2 separate regions of the Homo sapiens genome follow, and region 2 is linked to region 1. Evidence: promoter capture Hi-C in 16 types of primary human blood cells and fetal thymus (Javierre and others, 2016). All regions are on one chromosome and are shown on one strand. Each heading gives the region's core, a stretch centred on a gene start or on the middle of the fragment in contact. The rest is flanking DNA. Distances are from core to core; before and after follow the strand shown. Region 1 holds the start of LINC01620 (long intergenic non-protein coding RNA 1620). Region 2 overlaps OSER1 (oxidative stress responsive serine rich 1).

Region 1 (4,482 bases), core at 571-3,070:
GCTCTTCCATTTAACAAAGGAGTAAACAGACTCAGAGAAGCCACATCACTTGTAAATGGTCCCACGGAGATGGAATTTGCAGGTCTGTGATTGTGGAATTCTGGAGTGTTAGCTCCGCAAATTCACTACTTCACTCAGCCCTCACCACAAACCCCCACCCAGTAAGGTGCTGCCACCCGCAGTAAGGATATGAAAAAACTGAGGCTGGGGGTGGTGGACATGACTTGTAAGATGTTTCTAGAAAGCTCTGCTGTGACAACCAGTAACTGTTTTTTAAAAGCCCAGTCCAACTCTCTGGGCTCGGACCTAGTTCGCGGTGACATGGCCAAACCTACCAAGAAAGTCGGGATCGTCGGTAAATACGGGACCCGCTATGGGGCCTCCCTCTGGAAAATGGTGAAGAAAGTTGAAATCAGCCAGCAGGCCAAGTACACTTGCTCTTTCTGTGGCAAAACCAAGATGAAGAGATGAGCTGCGGGGATCTGGCACTGTGGTTCCCGCGTGAAGACAGTGGCTGGCGGTGCCTGGACATACAATACCACCTCCGCTATCACGGTAAAGTCCGCCATCAGAAGCCTGAAGGAGTTGAAAGACCAGTAGACGCTCCTCTACTCTTTGAGACATCACTGGCCTGTAATAAATGGGTTAATTTACGTAACAACAACAACAACAAAAAAGAGCCCAGTCCAAACCCACAGCTGCTAAAATTTGGCCATGGCTACCCAAAACCCCCACATTTACTATTACCCCTATACCCACCACATTCTCCTAGGATGGGAAGAGGAAGCAAAGAGTTCTTTGGTGACCATCTCCCTGGAAGGGTGGAATGGGGTCATGGGGGCTCTTCCATGAGAGGGGCCACTATATGTAGAGAATAATGTGTGGCCATTATGAGGGGGCCCAGTGGTCTCATGTGGGCATGGACATCTAGAGGCTGAGAGAAACGGGCTGCCTGGCTGAACTGGTGAAGGAGCCAGTGTGGGCGTGCTAAGGTAAGCCACATTCCCAGGACTTTCGGAGTACAGGCTGCTGGCTGGAGTGTTTCCCATGGGCCAGTGTTGGCAGAGAGCACCTACAAGGGGTCCTCTTGGGTCCTGTCCCCTAGAGCCTCCTGGAGGGGCAGAGGTGTGGCAGCAGCAAGAAGCTTGAGTTGGATGTTGGGTTCCTAAGGGCTGACGAAGGACTTGCAAGGGACCCCTATGAGGAGAGATGCATCCCCCAAGGTTAAGAGTGAGAGGGCCCCTGTGACAGTGGCCATCTCCATGGAGCCCACGACAGAAAGGGGCAGCTTGAAGCCAGCCAGGATGGTGGCAGCTCAAGGGAGACCCTTCCTCTCCCCTTGCCATCTCCAACACCCCCCACTGTACCCCACGGGTGGGTGAGGGAAGGAGAGATAGAGAAGGAGTCACCCACACCACCTCCCTGAAGCAGGCCTGAGGGTGAGGGGAGAAGGTTTAAACCCAAATCAAATTGGGAATTTTGGTTAGAAGCTTGACTGGACATTCTCATTTCTAAATTGAGGTTGTGTTTGTGACCTAAAGTGACCATAGAATTGCCTGTTTCCTCAGAACAAGCAGAAGAATAATGGGGAGATTTCACCCAGTGGCAGGGAAAATGTTTCTCTACCAAATACATCTTAGAAAGGACACTGGGAGATACAAATTAAGGTATGCTTTGATTATGTCACAGGCTGGGTTTGTTCAACATGCTGGTCTCAGTGAGAAGGAGGATTCTCCAAAACAAGTCTAGGAAGTGAATGTTCCAGAATGTTCTAGAACTTGATTCATTAGGCAGGCAAGAAGTGTGCCTCTGGGAACCTCTTGAGCCCTTCATGGGCTAGCACACCAACACCATCCCCCCAGATGCTTCAGTTGTTGGCTTCGAATGGCTTACTATTTCCATTTCTACGGAGAACTGCCATCTCAGGAATCACCTCACCCTGGAGTTTATTCCCCTCACCCACAGGGTGGCTGGCAGCCAACAGCTGACTCGTACAGAGGTACACAAAGCCAGCCTTTTTGCTAGACTTTACCTGAGACCACATCTTTTCTTGTTTCCCTCCCTGTCTTGCTTCCCTTCATCCCTTACAGGTTCTTTCCTTTATAAATCACACAGTACCTAATCTTTGCTTCAGGCTCTGTGTCTGAGGAGCTGAAAATGATTTTGGGCATCAGGAGGTGCTTTTGTGACTGGGCTCTTTCACTAGTTCTGAGCTAGGTAATCCATTAGCGAAACTTCTAGATCCTAAATCAAACTACATAGATTCAAATCACAGCACCATTACTTCACTGCTGTGTGACCTTGGCCAATGACTAGTTACTACATCCCAGTTTTCTCATCTGTCATACAGAAGGCAAACACTGACCCACCTCACAGGGCTTTGCAAGGATTCAACATACAAAAGCACCTAGGATAGTGCCTGGCACAATCGATGGTGCCATTGTTATTCCTCCAGGCTAACAGCACTGACTAAGTGCAAAGGAAGTGGCTTTTTGCCATCTAGTTGAGGATGCTGTATCCTGGGGTAAGTGGCCAGATCATAGGATGGCTGTGGTTCAATTGTAATAAAATAATCACCCTTGGCCAGGCTGGTGGCTCACACCTGTAATCCAGCACTTTGGGAGGCCGAAGCAGGTGGATCACCTGACGTCAGGAGTTCGAGACCAGCCTGGCTAACATGGTGAAACCTTGTCTCCACTAAAAATACAAAAATTAGCCAGGCATGGTGGTGCGTGCCTGTAATCCCAGCTACTTGGGAGGCTGAGGCAGGAGAATCACTTGAACCTGGGAGGCGGAGGTTGCAGTGAGCTGAGATTGCAACACTGCACGAGACTCCATCTCAAAAACAACAACAACAACAAAAACCCACCGTTTATGGAACCCCTACTATGTCCCAGTCCCTGTTCTATGTGCTGCATATGTGCTTATGTGCTAGTTCACTCTGTCTTCACTACCTTTCAAAACTGATGTAATTATCTCCTTTCTTTTTTGAGATGGAGTCTCGCTCTGTTGCCAGGCTGGAGTACAGTGGCACGATCTTGACTCACTGCAACCTCCGCCTCCCGGGTTCATGTGATTCTCCTGCCTCAGCCTCCCGAGTAGCTGGGACTACAGGTGCACACCACCATGCCCAGCTAATTTTTGTACTTTCAGTAGAGATGGGGTTTCACCATGTTGGCCAGGATGGTCTCGATCTCTTGACCTCATGATCTGCCTGCCTCAGCCTCCTAAAGTGCTGGGATTACAGGCGTGAGCCACTGCACCCGGCCAATTATCTCCATTTTACACATGAAAACACTGAGGTCCAGACAGTCTAAGAAACCATCTATTAGATCCACAGGTTAAAAAAAATGAGTGCATCTAAAATGACTATAATTAAAAAGGCCAGACTGGGAAGTAGTTTGCAGTTTCTTAAAAAGTTAAACACACACTTATGTGACCAGCAATTGTATTCCTGCATAATGAAAGCGTTTGTCCTCTCAAAGACATGAACATGAGTGTTCATAGCAGTTTTATTTGTAATAGGCAAAAACTGGGGGAAACAATGACATGCCCAGGGGCATGGGTGAAGAAACTATGGCTTCTGTATCTTTCTTTGTTGTTTGTTTGAGACAAAGTGGAGTGCAGTGGTGCGATCACGGCTCACTGCAGCTCGACCTTAGGGCTCAAGCGATTCTCCCACCTCAACCTCCTGAGTAGCTGAGACTACAGACAGGCACATGCCACCATGCCTGGCTAATTTTTTGGTGTTTAGTAGAGACACGGTTTCGCTATGTGGCCCAGGCTGGTCTCAAACTCCTGGGCTCAAGTGATCTGCTCGTCTCAGCCTCCCAAAGTGTTGGGATTACAGGTGTGAGCCACCGTGCTTCACCTGTGAGATCTATTAGGTTGGTGCAAAAGTGATTGCGGTTTTTGCCGTTAAAAGTAATGGCGAAATGGCCAGGCATGGTGGTTCATGCCTGAATGAGAGAAGTCAGACAGAAAGAGTACATATTTGCGGGGCGCAGCGGCTCACGCCTGTAATCCTAGCACTTGGAGAGGCTGAGGTGGGCGGATCACCTGAAGCCAGGAGTTCGAGACTACTAAAAATACAAAAAAAAAAAAAATTAGCCAGGTATGGTAGCGCACGCCTGTGATCCCAGCTACTAAGGCTGAGGCAGGAGAATTGCTTGAACCCCTGGGGGGCAGAGGTTTCAGTGACCCGAGATTTCACCACTGCACTCCAGCCTGGGCAACAGAGAGAGGCTCTGTCTCAAAAAAAAAAAAAAAAAAATTAAGACAGAGTACATATAGCATGATTTCATTTCTATAAAATCCCAGAAAATGTAAAGCCATCTATAGTGAAAGAAAGCAACCTATATTGGTGATGGTTACCTGGGAATGGGGTGGTGGGATGAATGGGGGATGGCTTATAAACGAGCATGAAGCTTTTGGAAGCGATGGAAACACTTGGCATCTTGATTGTGGTGATGGTTCCTTGGG
Region 2 (4,482 bases), core at 1,196-3,695, 270 kb after region 1:
GGGAAGTGTAAGAGCATGGCACCAGCATCTAGTGAGTGTATCATTGCTGCATCATAACATGGGGAAGGATATCACGTGGCAAGGGGGCTCGTGAGAAGTAGCCAAACCGGCTTTTATAACAGAGCCGTTCTTGTGATAACTATCCCTGTCCCTCAATAACCCTTTAATTCATTAATCTGTGGATGGATTAATCCATTCTTGAAGGCAGAGTCCTTTTGTGACCCAATCACCCCCAAAGGTCTCAGCACTGATGCATTCGGGACCAAGTTGACAACACATGAACTTTTGGGTGACACATTCTAACCACAGCAGAAGCACTTCGTGGCTTTTCTTGGTATACCCAAACTGCTAGCATCACTACTGTTATACTGTGGGGCCATTGTTAAGTAAAATAAGAGTTACTTGAACACAAGCACTGCAGTACCATGGTAGTTGATCTAATAACCAAGATGGCTACTAAATGACTAATGGGTAGGTAGCATATACAGTGTGGATACCCTGGACGAAGGGATGATTCACATCCCAGGTGGGACGGAGCAGGATGGTGCAAGATTTTGTCATGCCACTCACAGTGGGGCGCAATGTAAAACTTATGAATTGTTTATTTCTGGAATTTTTTATTTAATATTTTCAGACCATGGTTGACTGCAGGTAACTGAAACTGTAGAAAGCGAAACCATGGATAAGATGGGATTACTGTGTTCTGTTTAGCTTTTTAGTGTCTTGTTTGGTTCTTGTCTCTAATTCACTTAGCAGTTTTGAGTATCTTTTCTTTTCATTCAGTTCTTTATTTAATTTTATTTTATTTTATTTATTTATTTATTTATTTTTGAGACGGAGTCTCGCTCTGTTGCCCAGGCTGGAGTACAGTGGCGTGATCTCAGCTCACTGCAAGCTCTGCCTCCCAGATTCACGCCATTCTCCTGCCTCAGCCTCCCAAGTATCTGGGACTACAGGCGCCCACCACCACGCCCGGCTAATTTTTTGTATTTTTAGTAGAGACGGGGTTTCACCGCTTTAGCCAGGATGGTCTCAATCTCCTGACCTCGTGATCCACCTGCCTCGGCCTCCCAAAGTGCTGGGATTACAGGCGTGAGCCACCGCGCCTGGCTATTTAAATATTTTATAAATAGTTATCTTACATAGTGTGTCCAGTAATTCCCAGTATCTGAAAACCTCAGGGGTTGTAAATATTGTTAGTTTTTTGGTTTTGATTGATTGGCTGTTACCAATGATAGAAATGAATCAGAAATCTATTTAATAGTAATGGCATAATGGTCATTTGTAACGTTAGCCTCACAGTGGTTCTGAAGCTGCTATATTCAGGTTTAGGGCACAATATTTAGGCTTCACAGGATCGGTTTCAGTTGTATGTTTGAGGTGCTTCCCTCAGACCCACTGGTCAAAGGCTCCCAAGCTTAGAGTTGGAACAGGGCAGGTGTTCTGTCCCAAATGTTTGGCCCAGGTGATTCAGTTAAAAAATACCATTATCTCACCTCGTTCTATAGCTTGCTAATAAGATGATGTTGAAGTTGTTGAGACACAAAGACTTAGGCAGCATGAAAATGGAGGAAGGTGCATCTCTTGCAGGAAATTTATGAGCTTAGACTCATAAAGCTGAGGGAAGGTAAATTTCCTACTGTCATAAAGAATCTGTTTAGGACAGCTCCATATCCCAACATCTTCTTGTATATTTTTTTTCCTCTTTAGGTCTACAAGGAAGTCTTCACGAGGAGCAGTGAGAACTCAGCGTCGTCGACGTTCTAAGTCTCCTGTCCTTCATCCTCCAAAGTTTATACATTGCAGTACAATAGCGTCTTCTTCCAGCAGTCAACTCAAGCACAAAAGCCAGACTGACTCACCTGATGGCAGCAGTGGGCTGGGAATTTCATCCCCTAAAGAGTTCAGTGCAGGAGAAAGCTCTACTTCTCTCGATGCTAATCACACAGGGGCAGTCGTTGAGCCTTTGAGAACTTCTGTTCCAAGGCTCCCATCAGAGAGTAAGAAGGAAGACTCCTCTGACGCTACCCAAGTCCCCCAAGCAAGTCTCAAAGCCAGTGATCTCTCTGACTTTCAATCAGTTTCCAAGCTAAACCAGGGCAAGCCATGCACATGCATAGGCAAGGAATGCCAGTGTAAGAGATGGCATGATATGGAAGTGTATTCCTTTTCAGGCCTGCAGAGTGTCCCTCCCTTGGCTCCAGAACGAAGATCCACACTTGAGGACTACTCTCAGTCGCTGCACGCCAGAACTCTGTCTGGCTCTCCCCGATCCTGTTCTGAGCAAGCTCGAGTCTTCGTGGATGATGTGACCATTGAGGACCTGTCAGGCTACATGGAGTATTACTTGTATATTCCCAAGAAAATGTCCCACATGGCAGAAATGATGTACACCTGATAGCAAGAAGCTAATTCATATGCTTTAAACCAATGAAGGCTTGTCAAAGAGATTTAGTTAATGGCAGACCTTGTGGCCACTTTGTGTGAGAAGACATCTCTTTCTGCTCACTGTGCTTGCAATAAAAACTTTTCTTGGCATCTCAGTTAATCTTCATTCTTTCAACTTACTCTCTTGAGTTCTTACATACACTTCAAGGCGAGCAGATCAAAGAAAAATCCCCCTTATTTAGAAATGTTCCTGGGGGATGAAGAAACCATAATTACTTGAGACTGGCAGCAGTGGGTATATGGTAAAAGCCTTTGTAAAACAGTGCATTTTTCAGATTTGTTTAAGGTTTGCTAGCCAAGGAAAGTAAAATGTGATTTTGTAACTGCACTAAACATTTGTCATGCTGTAGTTGCCAGCCCAGAATATTAGAAGTTACAAGACTGATTTAAACCGTCTCTGATTTAATGCAAGATATATTGTGTCTATAAAGGTTTCTCTTGTTATTGTTAAGCCAGAGATCTAAGGTTTAGATTCAATTTGAATAAACTAGCTGGCCTGCCCTCTATTGTTTGAGAGAGTTATTAACCATCACTAAATAAGCCCCTGCTGGTGCTATTCATCCTAAGACATGTTACATGCAGTTTCAAGTAAGCAGCTTGGAATGGGCTGCTTCAGTTGGAGGGAGGGGGTGTAATATTTGAAACGAGTGTGTGTCTTCACCATCTCCAGCATTTTAAATATATGGCGGTTTTTTTTTTTTTTTTTTGTTATCAGTTGTAATACAGGTCTCATACCTCAGTTTCAGATGTTATAGATGGTTACCTCTTTGAGCTGCCCTGTCACCCCAGCAACCCTAAAAGAGAATTTTGTACATTCTGTATCCCACAGATTTGGTCAGCCATTTCAAAATTCCCTCCAGTTTGGTAAAAAAAAAATCTGTCTTCGGTTTCAGCTGGATGATGAATCCTTGTTTTTCAGGTGGCTCCAAAAAGAATGTTGCATGTGTTCAGACCATCCTGAGCAGAGCCACCAAATTTAGTGACAGTGTCTAGCCATGTTAGCAATAATGTTAACAGAAGCTTTTGTTTAAATTACAAAATACATTTATACTATTTACTAAAACTGCGCTGGCTGTGGTTGATTCATGATAATGGGATGTGGGCTTCAACAAATAGGTGATTTGTACTTGGGGGAGAGGGGAAGGGTGTTTACTAGAAAAACCCTAAGCTTAAGTAGTAGTGGGAGTCCTCTGCTGGTCATTGGTTTGGTGTGGATTTAGTGACATCTGAAGGCTGTGGTTAAAGCAAGGGAGCAAAATACCTTATCACAGTTCTAGAAGCTGTGACAGATATTTCCTGATAATGGTGACAGAAGGTACACTATTTAGTATATCTAAGGCAGAAATTCTCAAACTTTTTGTAAGCACTTCCTTTACACTGACAAATTCAGGACCCAAAAGGTTTTGTTATAATCTCCAAAAGGATATAAATATTTACCATGTTAGAAATTAAAACTAAGATTTTTTTAAATATTTAAAAACTCATTACAAGCTAACAAAATTTTTGAATGAAAAATAGCTTTTCCAAAACAAAAAATAGAAGAGTGGCATTGTTCTACCTTTTTGCAAATCTTTTTTAATGTTTGGCTTAATTAGAAGACAGATTCTCATATGTTTCTGCATTCAGTCTCTGGGATATCGCATATTGTGTGGTCTCTGGCAAACTTTTGTACACTTGGGAGAATGAATGTGAAAAAGGCAACTACAGGTTGAATATTCCTTATATGAAATGCTTGGGACCAGAAGTGTTTCGGATCTCAGATTTTTTTTAGATTTTGAAAGATTTGCATTACATGCTTATCAGTTCAGCTTCCATAATCCTAAAAGCCAAACTGCTCCAATGAGCATGTCCTTTGCTCCTCATGTCAGTGCTCAAAAAGTTCTGGATTTTGAAGCATTTCAGATTAGGGACCCTCAACCTGTAATGTTTTAGTACCATGTAAATAATTTTGACCTCAGATTTCCTAAAAGGGCCTCAGGGATTCCAGGACCAAAATTTAAGCTTCTGGTTGTAAAGGTACCACCCCGCTTTCAC

The links. Contacts are between HindIII fragments. The CHiCAGO score rates a contact against its expected background, and 5 or more counts as called.
Region 2: a fragment that was not itself captured here is called in contact with the fragment with the promoter of LINC01620 in region 1 in 2 of 17 cell types (megakaryocytes and erythroblasts); the score reaches 8.7 in megakaryocytes.

Annotation. Positions count from the first base shown.
Region 1 is chr20:44,462,682-44,467,163 of GRCh38, reverse strand. LINC01620 (long intergenic non-protein coding RNA 1620) reads left to right here and starts at 1,820. Exons shown (of 3, transcript NR_132343.1): 1 at 1,820-1,999. It also overlaps the pseudogene RPL37AP1. The HindIII fragment of the contact is 2,937 bases long and covers 1,493-4,429 here.
Region 2 is chr20:44,194,968-44,199,449 of GRCh38, reverse strand. It overlaps OSER1 (oxidative stress responsive serine rich 1), which reads left to right. Exons shown (of 4, transcript NM_016470.8): 4 at 1,711-3,511. The coding sequence ends at 2,398. Among named protein-coding and RNA genes, the nearest start is that of JPH2, 10 kb to the right of the region's middle. The HindIII fragment of the contact is 2,051 bases long and covers 1,420-3,470 here.